Regions from separate parts of the Homo sapiens genome. Here all the other regions are linked to region 1. The links are contacts of gene promoters, found by promoter capture Hi-C in blood cells and fetal thymus (Javierre and others, 2016). All regions are on one chromosome and are shown on one strand. The core of a region is centred on a gene start or on the middle of the fragment in contact, and the rest is flanking DNA. Distances in the headings are between cores, read along the strand shown. Region 1 holds the start of ACSM3 (acyl-CoA synthetase medium chain family member 3). Region 2 overlaps DNAH3 (dynein axonemal heavy chain 3). Region 3 overlaps DNAH3 (dynein axonemal heavy chain 3).

Region 1 (3,661 bases), core at 545-3,044:
TCCGTATGGATTCACCACTGCTAACATTATGCTGAATGGTATGTGAGAGTAGAAAAAAAAACACTGTTTTTTCCCTGTCTCTAATAATGAGCTTAACATCAGAATAGAAATAATAGAAGAAAAAAATCAAAGAACTGGAAGCCAGAATTTACTCAACCTGAACAAAAGAAAGAAACTAGAATGGGAAAAAAAAGAAAAAAAAGAACAGAGCCTCAGGGACCTGTGAAACTATCATAAAAGATCTAACATGGGGGCTAAAAATTTACTCCAAGAAATAATAGCTGAAAAGTTCTCAAATTTGTCAAGAGACATAACTATAGAATTCAGCAATACAGAAAAAGAAATATACAACAGGACCAAGCAAGGTTTATTCCAGGGAGGCAAGGCTGGTTCAATATTAGAAGATCAGTGTAATCTATCTTATTAACAGGCTAAAGAAGAAAAACACCACATGCTTATAGTAACTGATGCAGAAAAAACACTTGCCAAAATTCAACACCTATTCATGATAAAAACACTCAGAAAAAAATAGAAATAGAGGAGAATTTCCTCAACTTGATAAAGGGCATCTACACAAAACCTACTACTAATATTGTACCTAACCATGAAAGACTGAATGTTTTCCCTCTAAGATCAAAAGCAAGGCAAGGATGTCTGCTCTCATCACTCTTATTCAACGTAGAGCTAGACACTCTAGCCTGCGCAATAAGGCAAGAAAAGGAAATAAAACGCATATAGATCTGAAAGAAAGAAGTAAGATCTGTTTACTTATTTACAGGTAATGTGATTACACAGAAAATCCCAAGGAATCAACAACAAAAGACTCCTAGAACTCAAAAGTGACCAACAAATTCCTCTTTAAGTAAAGTTGGGTCTCTCACATGTAATTGAAAGAGTCCTTTATTTATTCACATATCCATCAACTATTTATTGAATGCCTAAAATTTGCCAGTAGCTATTCCAGGCAATAGATACACCATCAAACAAAAAGAGTTCTTACCCTCAAGGGTGATAGTAAGAGATGTAAAAAGTTAAAAAATGGTAAAAGAGAAAAAATGAAGAGTGCTACTTTAGAAAATGAGGTAAGGGAAGAGTTATTTAATAAGACACCTCAGAAAATGAGGAATTTGGCCAGGGGGATATCTGAGGAAAGAGTTCCAGTCAGTGGAAACTGTGAATTCAGAAAGCCTGAGGCTGAAACAGGCAAGTGTGTTTGAGAAAAAGCAAGGAGGCCGGTGGCTGTGCAGAGTGAGGCAGAGGAAGGAGAATGGGCTGTGGATCAGAGGACCCTGTGCCAGATCATACAACTCCTTGCAGTTCATGTAAGGACTCGGATTTTACCTGGAGTGGAAAAAGAAGCACTGAAAGATTTGAGCAGGGGAGTAACCTGATAGCGTTTATGTTTAGTCCTGCCACTTCGACAGATAAACGCACCAATGGGCTTGATGAGATTTAGGCCAACCCATAACCGCCCCTCAACTTCTTTCCTTTCAATTTCAAAACTCCTCTATGGCTTCCTCCATCTGTTCTTCCTTCTGAGAAGTGCTCTCTCTGCCCCTTTACAGAACTAACCACTTCGGCAACTCCTTGGACACTTTCCTTCTTGTTAATAATTTGCTTTCTCCGCCCCTCAAAAGCTTGCTGTTTCTGTAAATCATTACCTGTAAGAGGAACCGCTGGGAGTCCTGTAAACTTTAGCCCAGAGCTTGGCTCCTCCTCCAGAATGTCTCCACCAATCAAGGAAAGTGTTTTGGGCCAGTCTTGCTCCTCCGGATTGTCAGACTGCTCCTCCCTCTTCTTTAGACTGCCACGAGGAAAAAGCAGATGTGAGAACTCAAGGTTCAGGGCTGCTCTTCTAAGAAACAAGTCTGCCATAATCTCCATCTGTGTTGGAATCTGTTAACTAGTGAGTACCTCATCTCCCCTCCTGTGTAAGATTTCCTGAACTGGCACATCTGTTTTTTGAGCAAAGATAACAAACAGATGAACAAAACCAACAATCAAAAATGCTGTCATTAAAGTCTTGGGCAGCCAAAGTTTCTCTCAGAATTTCTCAGTTGTGTGATACTATCTATTAAGTGATGAGGAGTATGCACACACAAAAGGCTATAAATGTAGCAGCTGAGTTTTCATGTTGAGCCTTTTGGTGCTATTTGATTTTTTGAAAAACTATGTACATGTATTAAGTTGATAAATTTTTTTTTTAATTTTAATTGAACCAGATGCGGTGGCTCAAGCCTGTAATCCCACCACTTTAGGAGGCTATGGTGGGCAGATGCAGATCACTTGAGGCCAGGAGTTCGAGACCAGCTTGGCCAACATGGTGAAACCCTATCTCTACTGAAAATAAAAAATTAGCCAGGTGTGGTGGCAGGTGCCTGTAACCCCAGCTACTTGGGAGCCTGAGGCAGTAGAGTCACTTGAACCTGGGAGGTGGAGTTTGCAGTAAGCTGAGATTGCATCACTGCACTCCAGCCTGGGTGACAGAACAAGACTCCATCTCAAAAAAAAGACCAGGTAGTGGCTGAGATTTTCATTGTACTGTCTGCTTAGCTCCCCACCTTGCTCAGTGACAGATGGGAATCCATCTTCTGCATCATCCAGAAAGTATGTAAATTACTTCCAGGAAACTTTGGGAAACACAGATGCAAACCTAAGAGCAGCCAGTTTTCTCCTTTAGGTGGTCAAGGGCAGCTGCAAAAGTTCTGTATAGGAGGGGCTTCAGGCAGGGTCTGGTTGGGTTTGGAGACAACAGCAGTGAATTTACCTTGCGTTGAGGCTGTATATGTTAAACTACTGTTATTACTTGGATACTTAGAGGGAGGGATGTTTAGGGAGCTGTGGGGAGGCTAAAGCCCCCTTGGCTGTAGGGACAAAGAGCTTGCATTTCAGATGAGACCTTAAATACTTTCAGAAGCCTATCTGACCAGGGGTGGTACTGTCTTTCTTAGAAGAGTTTTCCTTACCAATGTTTCTGTGGCTCAGTATAAAAATCTGGAGTCACCCTGGGAAAGTTATCTCAGCAATTTTACCTACAAATAATTTTATAAACCTGGGAAATAGAAGTTGTAAAATGCTAAGATCGATGAAAAGGGAGGAAAAGAACTTTGTTGAGGAGAAGGTAATCTTATGGTTTTGATGAAGAGGATGTCGATATTTGCTTTTTGGTAGAACAGAATGGTTAGGTTCATTTTAAGCTCCAAATGACTGATCAATTTTCTTTTCAACATACGTTTGAAGGATTCTGAATGTGGTGTAGAGTATTGTATGGGAGCTAGGGAACAAATCATACTAAACTCTGATTCTATTCAGAATCAGCAAGCTAAGTATGATATATTTATCTCCAATCATATTAATATTTACATAATTATTTAATGTCTTCCTTAATAGTCTATAAGCTTCATGGGAGCAAGACCAGCCGTGTCTTGTTCACAGCTATATTTTCAGCATTTAGTACAGGTCTGGCATATACCAAGTGTTCAATAAATACACGGGTAATGAATAAATGCGTTGTCCAATTTAAATATGTGTGTCTGTTTGTGTATACTTCCTTGTCTGTAAAATGAAAATACTAATAAATAACTGCAAAATGCTTAACAGTACAACCACTTGCCAGATCTCAGCAAAAATGTTACGTCCCTAGAGAGACCTCCTAAAAGGT
Region 2 (3,661 bases), core at 448-2,947, 370 kb after region 1:
TCACTGATGGGCTCTGTCCTACGTTGACTTCACCCCCTCAATTCCTTTTTAAAATACAAGCAAAACTAAGGATTTGAAAAACAAGTAGGTTCTCCAAGCCACAGGGCTCCCTTAAGACTGAACACGTTCAAAGCTAGAGATCCTCCCAAAGCAAAATACATGAGCTACTAATAAGTTCGGCCAATCAAAGTTAAGTAAGCATATCTGCCTCTAATTTTTCTAATACAAAACTCAGATGGGGGCAGCTCATCATTTCATTAGCCTGGCCTTTCAGTGAACTCCGGTGTCTTCATCCTCTCACCAGGATGTGTACCTTCTTGAAGGGCTCACTAAAAAAACCAGAGTCTTCCACCTCCAGGCTCACTGCAATTGATGCATAGATAAAACAAATGTCGGATAGCCATCCAATGGATTAGTATGCCGCCATAAAAAGGAAGCACTCACTACTGATACAAGCTTCAGTGTGGATGAAGACTGACAATATTGTTCATTGAAAGACACCAGACACAAAAGATCATATATTGCATGATTCCATTTCTATAAAATGTCCAGAATATGCAAATCCATAGAGACAGAAAATCACTTAGTGGTTGGGAGGAAATGGGGGAAGGTGAGAATGCGGAGTGACTGCTAATGGGTTTCTTTTTGGGGTAATGATAATACTCTTGAATTAGACAGTGGTAAGGATTAAACAAACTTGTGAATATATTAAAAACTTGCATTGTGTACTTTCAAAGGGTGAATTTTATGGAATGTGGATATCTCACTTTTTTTTAAAATGAAAGAATGAAAAAAGGTGGCTTCTGTCTCATCTGGACTCCTACAATTTTTTTTTTTTTGAGACGGAGTTTCGCAAATTTAATTATTGATAAATATACCTGAGAGATCACTGCTTGCCAGCCCTGTACTGGCACTGAGTTACATAAAGGAATAAGACCGTCCGGGCGTGGTGGCTTACACCTGTAATCCCAGAACTTTGGGGTGCCGATGTGGGTGGATTGCTTGAGCTTAGGAGTTTGAGACCAGTCTGGACAACATGGTGAAACTCCGTCTCTATCAAAAAATACAAAAAATTAGCTGGGTGTGGTGGTGTGGGTCTGTGGTCCCAACTACTCAGCTAACTTGGGAGACTGAGGTGGGAGGATTGCTTCAGCTTGGGAGGAGGAGGTTGCAGTGAATCGAGATTATGCCACTGCACTCCAGCCTGGGTGACAGGGTGAGATTCGTCTCAAAAAAAAAAAAAAAAAAGGAATAAAACCCAAGCCCGCACACACTTCATAGGCTAAAGGGAGACAAATAAGTAAATGTTCTATTATAACCAAGGGTGAGCTGGGTGCGATGGCCCATGTCTCTAATCCCAGCACTTTGGGAGGCTGAGGCTGGCAGATCACCTGAGATCGAGAGTTCGAGACCAGCCTGACCAACATGGAGAAACCCCATCTTGACTAAAGATGCAAAATTAGCCAGGCATGGTGGCGCATGCCTGTAATCCCAGCTACTCGGGAGGTTGAGACAGGAGAATCGCTTGAACCCGGGAGGCGGAGGCTGCAGTGAGCCAAGATCGCGCCATTGCACTCCAGCCTGGGTAACAAGAGCCAAACTCTGTCTCAAAAACAAAAACTGAGGGTGATGTTGTAATGGAGGTAATGCCAAATTAACAATTACTGGTGCTTAAGTTATATTAGATACTGTTCTAAGTGCTTTGGATGTAGTAAGTTATTTATTCCTCTTATCAATCCTATGAAGTGGAAACTCTTATTAACATTATCGCAAATTTAGAGGTAAAGGAAGCAAGGCACAGAAAAGTGATGCGACCACATATATGCCTGTAAAGCAGCAGAGCTAGGAGTTAGACCTGAGCAGGCTGGCTCCAAGTCTGTGCAATTAAGCAGGATATTCCAGTGCTTAGAGACAGGCACAGGGTGCCCTGGGGACACAAAGGAGGGCCACGTAAGCCTGCAAGGAAAGGTGTCACTTATAATTCACATGCATATTTGGCCTAGATTTTTTTTTCTTTCATTTCTCTATGCTGTCAGGGCTACCCCCACTGTGCACAGCAGAATAGGCTTGCTTACACGTGGATGTGGTCAAGAAAGGGAATGAAAAAAAAAGGGAGGGACTTCTTACTCTGCAAACCACAGTTCTTTCAGCCTGAGCATCATGGGGTTCACCGTGTGCAGATGCTCCTCGTTCCACTTCTTGGCGCTCCTGTAGACACTGTGCCAGGGCACAGGGGCCCGGATCACTCTTTGAGGAAACAAGCGGGGGATGCTCTCAATAAAGAGCCGTTTTCTCTCCATTGGGTCCATGAGGATGTAATCAACTACAACCGGAAAGGGCGAACACCTCATTATTAAGCTCTAAGGGTTGTGCTCTTAGCTTCAACTCATTTAGTTTTGTTTTTAATATAGAGACGGGGTCTCACTAAGTTGGCCAGGCTGGTCTCAAACTCCTGGGCTCAAGTGATCCTCCCACCTCAGCCTGCCAAAGTGCTGGGATTACAGGCATGAGTTGCTATGCCTGGCCTTAGAGTCAACTCTTTTTATTTATTTATTTATTTATTTTTTGAGATGGAGTCTCGCTCTGTCGCCCAGGCTCGATTGCAATGGTTCAATCTCAGCTCACTGCAACCTCCACCTCCGCCTCCTAGGTTCAAGCCATTCTCCTGCCTCAGCCTCCTGAGTAGCTGGGATTACAGGTGGCTGCCACCACACCTGCCTAATTTTTTGTATTTTCAGTAGATACAGGGTTTTGCCATGTTGGCCAGGTTGGTCTTGAAATCCTGACCTCAGGTGATCCACCCGCCTCGGCCTCCCAAAGTGCTGCGATTATAGGTGTGAGCTAGCACACCTGGCCTTAGCTTCAACTCTTAGAATATAAATGAGCCTCTGTCCATTTGCAAGGTCATGGGTAATCCCCTGGGTATAATTCAACTGGTGAAGCTTCACTCTTGGTGTTTGTTTTCTTTCTGAGGGTATTTTACAGAAAGGAGGAGTGTGACTTCACGGTGTGGAGCACTTAGAATCTGGGGTTGAGCCCTGGTAGGATGTCTAGTATCAGGCAGGACAATGAAATAGGATTTGCTGATAACTCATTAGTCACTGATTGATTTCTCACACCAAAATAGATGCACACAAAAAAACCCACCATGGATGATACCATCCATTATATTTACAAATAGAAGTTTAAAGACCAAATGTTTTCCATACTAAGAAAGGTTGGTAGAAAAGCTTCATAGAGGATGTAACATTTGTGCTGGGTCATAAAGAACAAGTAGCAGGCTGGGTGCGGTGGCTCACACCTGTAATCCCAGCACTTTGAGAGGCTGAGGTGGGTAGATCACTTGAGGTCATGAATTCGAGACCAGACTGGCCAACATGGCGAAACCTTGTCTCTACTAAAAATACAAAAATTAGCTGGGAGTGGTGGTGCGTGCCTGTAGTCCCAGCTACTCAGGAGGCTGAGGCAGGAGAATTGCGTGAACCCAGGGGTCCGCCCAGGTAGGTCTTGAAATCCTGACCAACCTCTGCAGTTGCAGTGAGCAGAGATCACACCACTGCACTTCAGCCTGGGCGACAGAGCAAGACTGTCTCAAAAAAGAAAAAAAAAAGAAGTGTAGAATCTCAGCCAGGTGTGATGGCTCATGTCTATAATCCCAGCA
Region 3 (3,661 bases), core at 564-3,063, 300 kb after region 1:
GAGGGTGTTGAGTATTGCTTTGTTCTGTGGGTGCTGGGAATAAGAAAGTAAGAAAGTTAGAGTCAGTCAGCCGGGCACAGTGGCTCATGCCTGTAATCCCAGCACTTTGGGAGACCGAGGCAAGTGGATCATTTGAGGTCAGGAGTTCGAGACCAGCCTGGCCAACATGGTGAAACCACATCTCTACGAAAAATACAAAAATTAGCCAGGTGTGGTGGTGGTTGCCTGTAGTCCTAGCTACTTGGGAGGCTGAGGCAGGAGAATCGCTTGAACCCAGGAGGTGGAGGTTGCAGTGAGCCAAGATCGTACCACTGCATTTCAGCCCTGGGAGACAGAGTGAGACTCCATCTCAAAAAAAAAAAAAAAGAAGAAAGAGAGCTAGAGTCGCTCAACGTGAATGTGACTACAGGCTGGGTACCAAGTTATTCTGATAGATTCTTTTGTCTTAAGCCTTACGTCATACCTATTTCCCTTTAAGCTTTGGGAACACAATGAGTTATGCCACTCAGGGCATCTGTAAGGTAAATGAATTATTAATTGGAAGGGACTCTAAATAGACTTCGTGCCATTAATCCCATTTGACAAAAAGGACTGGTCCGTGGCAACCAGAGGGTTCCAGCTAACCCTCTTCTCTTGCATCACCTGCTTCTAACTGCCAGTATTTCACCAGGAATAGGTTCATTGCCCCAGGGTTCACAAGTGAAGGAAAGAGAGGTGCAGAGGGACAGGTTTTGGTAGAAAGCAGAGGGTCCAGCCAAACTACTGACACATGAACCTTCTCCCCAATGTTCTCTTTAGTGCACTAGTGTCCTGGCATGTGTACCCCGGTTCTTGTTTACCTTGACATATGCTTCAATCCCAAGTCCAATGACTTCTCGCATACTGGCCAGCATCATCTGCTCCACCTGCTGGAGCCACTTTTCCACCATGCCCTATGGAGCAAGACAGAGAGAGGGTGCAGCAGTCAACCAAAGCCCAGAGGGAGGGAGAGTGGGCAGAACACAGCTTTCTCTCTGGACACGGCTGGAGGGATGCCAAAGGCTTGGCACCTTTTCAAGTCAATATTCTCTGTCTCCCCGTTCTTTTTTTCTTTTTTTTTTTCTTTTTTTTTTTTTTTTTGATACAGAGTCTCGCTCTGTCACCAGGCTGGAGTGCACTGTCATGATCTTGGCTCACTGCAACCTCCGACTCCCTGGTTCAAGCGATTCTCCTGCCTCAGCCTCCCGAGTAGCTGGGATTACAGGCGTGCACCACCACCGCGGCTGATGAATTTTGTATTTTTAGTAGAGACGGGGTTTCACCATGTTGGCCAGGATGGTCTTGACCTCCTGACCTCGTGATCTGCCCACCTCGGCCTCCAAAGTGCTGGGATTACAGGTGTGAACCACTGCGCCTGGTCTCTTCTTTTTTTTTTTTTTTTTTTTATAGAGAGAGACAGGGCCTTGCTCTGTCATCCAGACTGGAGTGCGGTGGCACGATCCTGGCTCACTGCAGCCTTGAACTCCTGGGCCCAAGTGACTCTCCTGACTCAGCCTCCTGAGTAACTGGGACTACAGGCACATGCCACCATGCCCGGCTAACTTTTAAATTTTTCTGTAGAGCCGTGGTCTCTCTATGTTGCCCAGGCTGGTCTTGATTTCCTGGCCTCAAGAGATCCTCCTGCCTCAGCCTCCCAAAGTGCTGGGATTACAGGTGTGAGCCATGGCACCTGGCCTTGGCCCCAGCCAATATTCCAATATTCTTTATCTGCTTGACACTTATTTTCTGTATTCTCAGAAGCATATGCCTTCTAAAGGGGCGATAGGCCTTTTTTTTTTTTTTTTTTTTGAGACGGAGTTTCACTCTTGTCACCCAAGGCTGGAGTGCAATGGTGTGATCTCGGCTCATTGCAACTTCCGCCTCCTGGGTTCAAGCGATTCTCCTGCCTCAGCCTCCCAAGTCGCTGGGATTACAGCATGTGCCACTACACCTGGCTTTTTAGTAGAGACAGGGTTTCGCCATGTTGGCCAGGCTGGTCTCAAACTCCTGACCTTAGGTGATCCACCCGCCTCGGCCTCCCAAAGTGCTGGGATTACAGGTGCAAGCCACCACGCCCGGCCCATTTTTAATACGCATTACTTTCATGTCATTTTCTGAAACAGACAACTTCTCAGAAGGCAAATGAAACATTTATGTCAGTTCATAAAATAAATTGCATCTTTTAAATGAACAGCTCTGATTCATGCATTATTCCAGTGGGTCTCAAACTTTGCTGTTCCTTGAAATCACTTGGAGATCTTTTAAAAAATACTGATGACTGACTCCCACCCCTAGACTTCCTGATTTAATTGGTATGGGATGCAACCTGGTCATTTGGATTTTGATCAAAACTCCATAGGGAAATTCAAATATGCCCCAAATTATTCAGTGTTAGAATTTCAGGTAACTGTAGCTATTGACTTCAGGTGCTTGTAAGCTAGCTGGTGTCTGCATTGGTAATGTGACTCCTGGTTGCTGCAGTTTATACGCGTGGGTGGCAAAAACAGTCAACAAAGCAAGGCTCAGCTTGCTTGTCTATTTCCACTTGAGGGTGCTGTCACTGAGCAGAAATGGAAGTAATTTATACTTTACTCATTATATAAGGACATATGTATGAAAACCTGAGTTAAGTTGCATTATAGCTCTCATTGATTCTATGATGTTTTATTGATCTTTAAAATGAATGCCCCAGGAAGCTACCTGTCTAACTGAATCACTTTCAACTGAACTCTGCACATGGAAATCTAAACAGCATCGGCTGTTTGGATCTGATTCCTGCAATTGACTCCACATCGAGTTGGGTTAAAATCCACAAATTTAATATGTCATGTGGATTGCAGTGGAATCCCCATCTTAGAGATGGGTACACTGAGACTCAGAAAGATTGAGTAACTTCCCCAAATCTTCAGTCGTTACATCGTAGAACCCAAGTGTTCCATACCCCAGGCAGTCTGGTGCTTAGTCCCAGTGCTTAGCCAATACGCTCTCTGATTTACTCTGTTATGGAGAAAAGAACCAAAAATGGGTAAGAGGAGTTACCTTGGCATTAGCTGGGTAGATTTTCTGTATGAATGGAACAGTTTCTTTTTCCGAGCTGATCATGCCCACAATTTCCAGATTGTCTGTAAACTCAAGCTTGGCAATTCCTTCAAAGCACTTCTTCAAGTGCGGCTGCACTCGGAGAGGGTCCTTTGTCTCGGACAAGATTTCCAGCAGCTCATCGTTTGATAGGAAGAAGAATCTATTTCAAAGCAAAGAAAGATGGTAACTGGAACCTCTTCCAAGAACTTTTTCTAGCAAGGTGATACTTTCTGACAGGTAGTCCGCACCTACGTGAATACCAGTTATGTCTTGCGGTCTTCACAAAGGCCCACTCTCTTTTATCACTTTTCATCTGGGGCATGGAAGGTGGAGTTTTGCTTTTCTTAAGAGATGAGGTCTTGCCATATTGCCCAGGCTAGACTTGAACTCCTGGGCTCAAGCAATCCTCTCTCCTCAGCCTCCTGAGTAGCTGGGATTACTGGCATGAGACATTGCACCCAGCTTGGAGATGGTTTTGACTCTGAGATACCACACTTGATCTTAGTCAAAAGACCAAGAAGCGATGGTTTTGAGTCTGACAGCAAGAGAACGAATAAAAGCT

Evidence for each region. Contacts are between HindIII fragments. The CHiCAGO score rates a contact against its expected background, and 5 or more counts as called.
Region 2: a fragment that was not itself captured here is called in contact with the fragment with the promoter of ACSM3 in region 1 in 1 of 17 cell types (endothelial precursors); the score reaches 6.9 in endothelial precursors.
Region 3: a fragment that was not itself captured here is called in contact with the fragment with the promoter of ACSM3 in region 1 in 1 of 17 cell types (endothelial precursors); the score reaches 5.1 in endothelial precursors.

What each region holds. Positions count from the first base shown.
Region 1 is chr16:20,762,220-20,765,880 of GRCh38, forward strand. It overlaps ACSM3 (acyl-CoA synthetase medium chain family member 3), which reads left to right and starts at 1,795. Exons shown (of 14, transcript NM_005622.4): 1 at 1,795-1,906. RefSeq lists an enhancer at 1,932-2,061. The HindIII fragment of the contact is 1,761 bases long and covers 1,636-3,396 here.
Region 2 is chr16:21,132,132-21,135,792 of GRCh38, forward strand. DNAH3 (dynein axonemal heavy chain 3) reads right to left here. Exons shown (of 62, transcript NM_001347886.2): 8 at 2,128-2,323. Among named protein-coding and RNA genes, the nearest start is that of DNAH3, 17 kb to the right of the region's middle. The HindIII fragment of the contact is 2,486 bases long and covers 455-2,940 here.
Region 3 is chr16:21,059,425-21,063,085 of GRCh38, forward strand. DNAH3 (dynein axonemal heavy chain 3) reads right to left here. Exons shown (of 62, transcript NM_001347886.2): 25 at 3,058-3,259; 26 at 840-932. Among named protein-coding and RNA genes, the nearest start is that of DNAH3, 90 kb to the right of the region's middle. The HindIII fragment of the contact is 2,675 bases long and covers 477-3,151 here.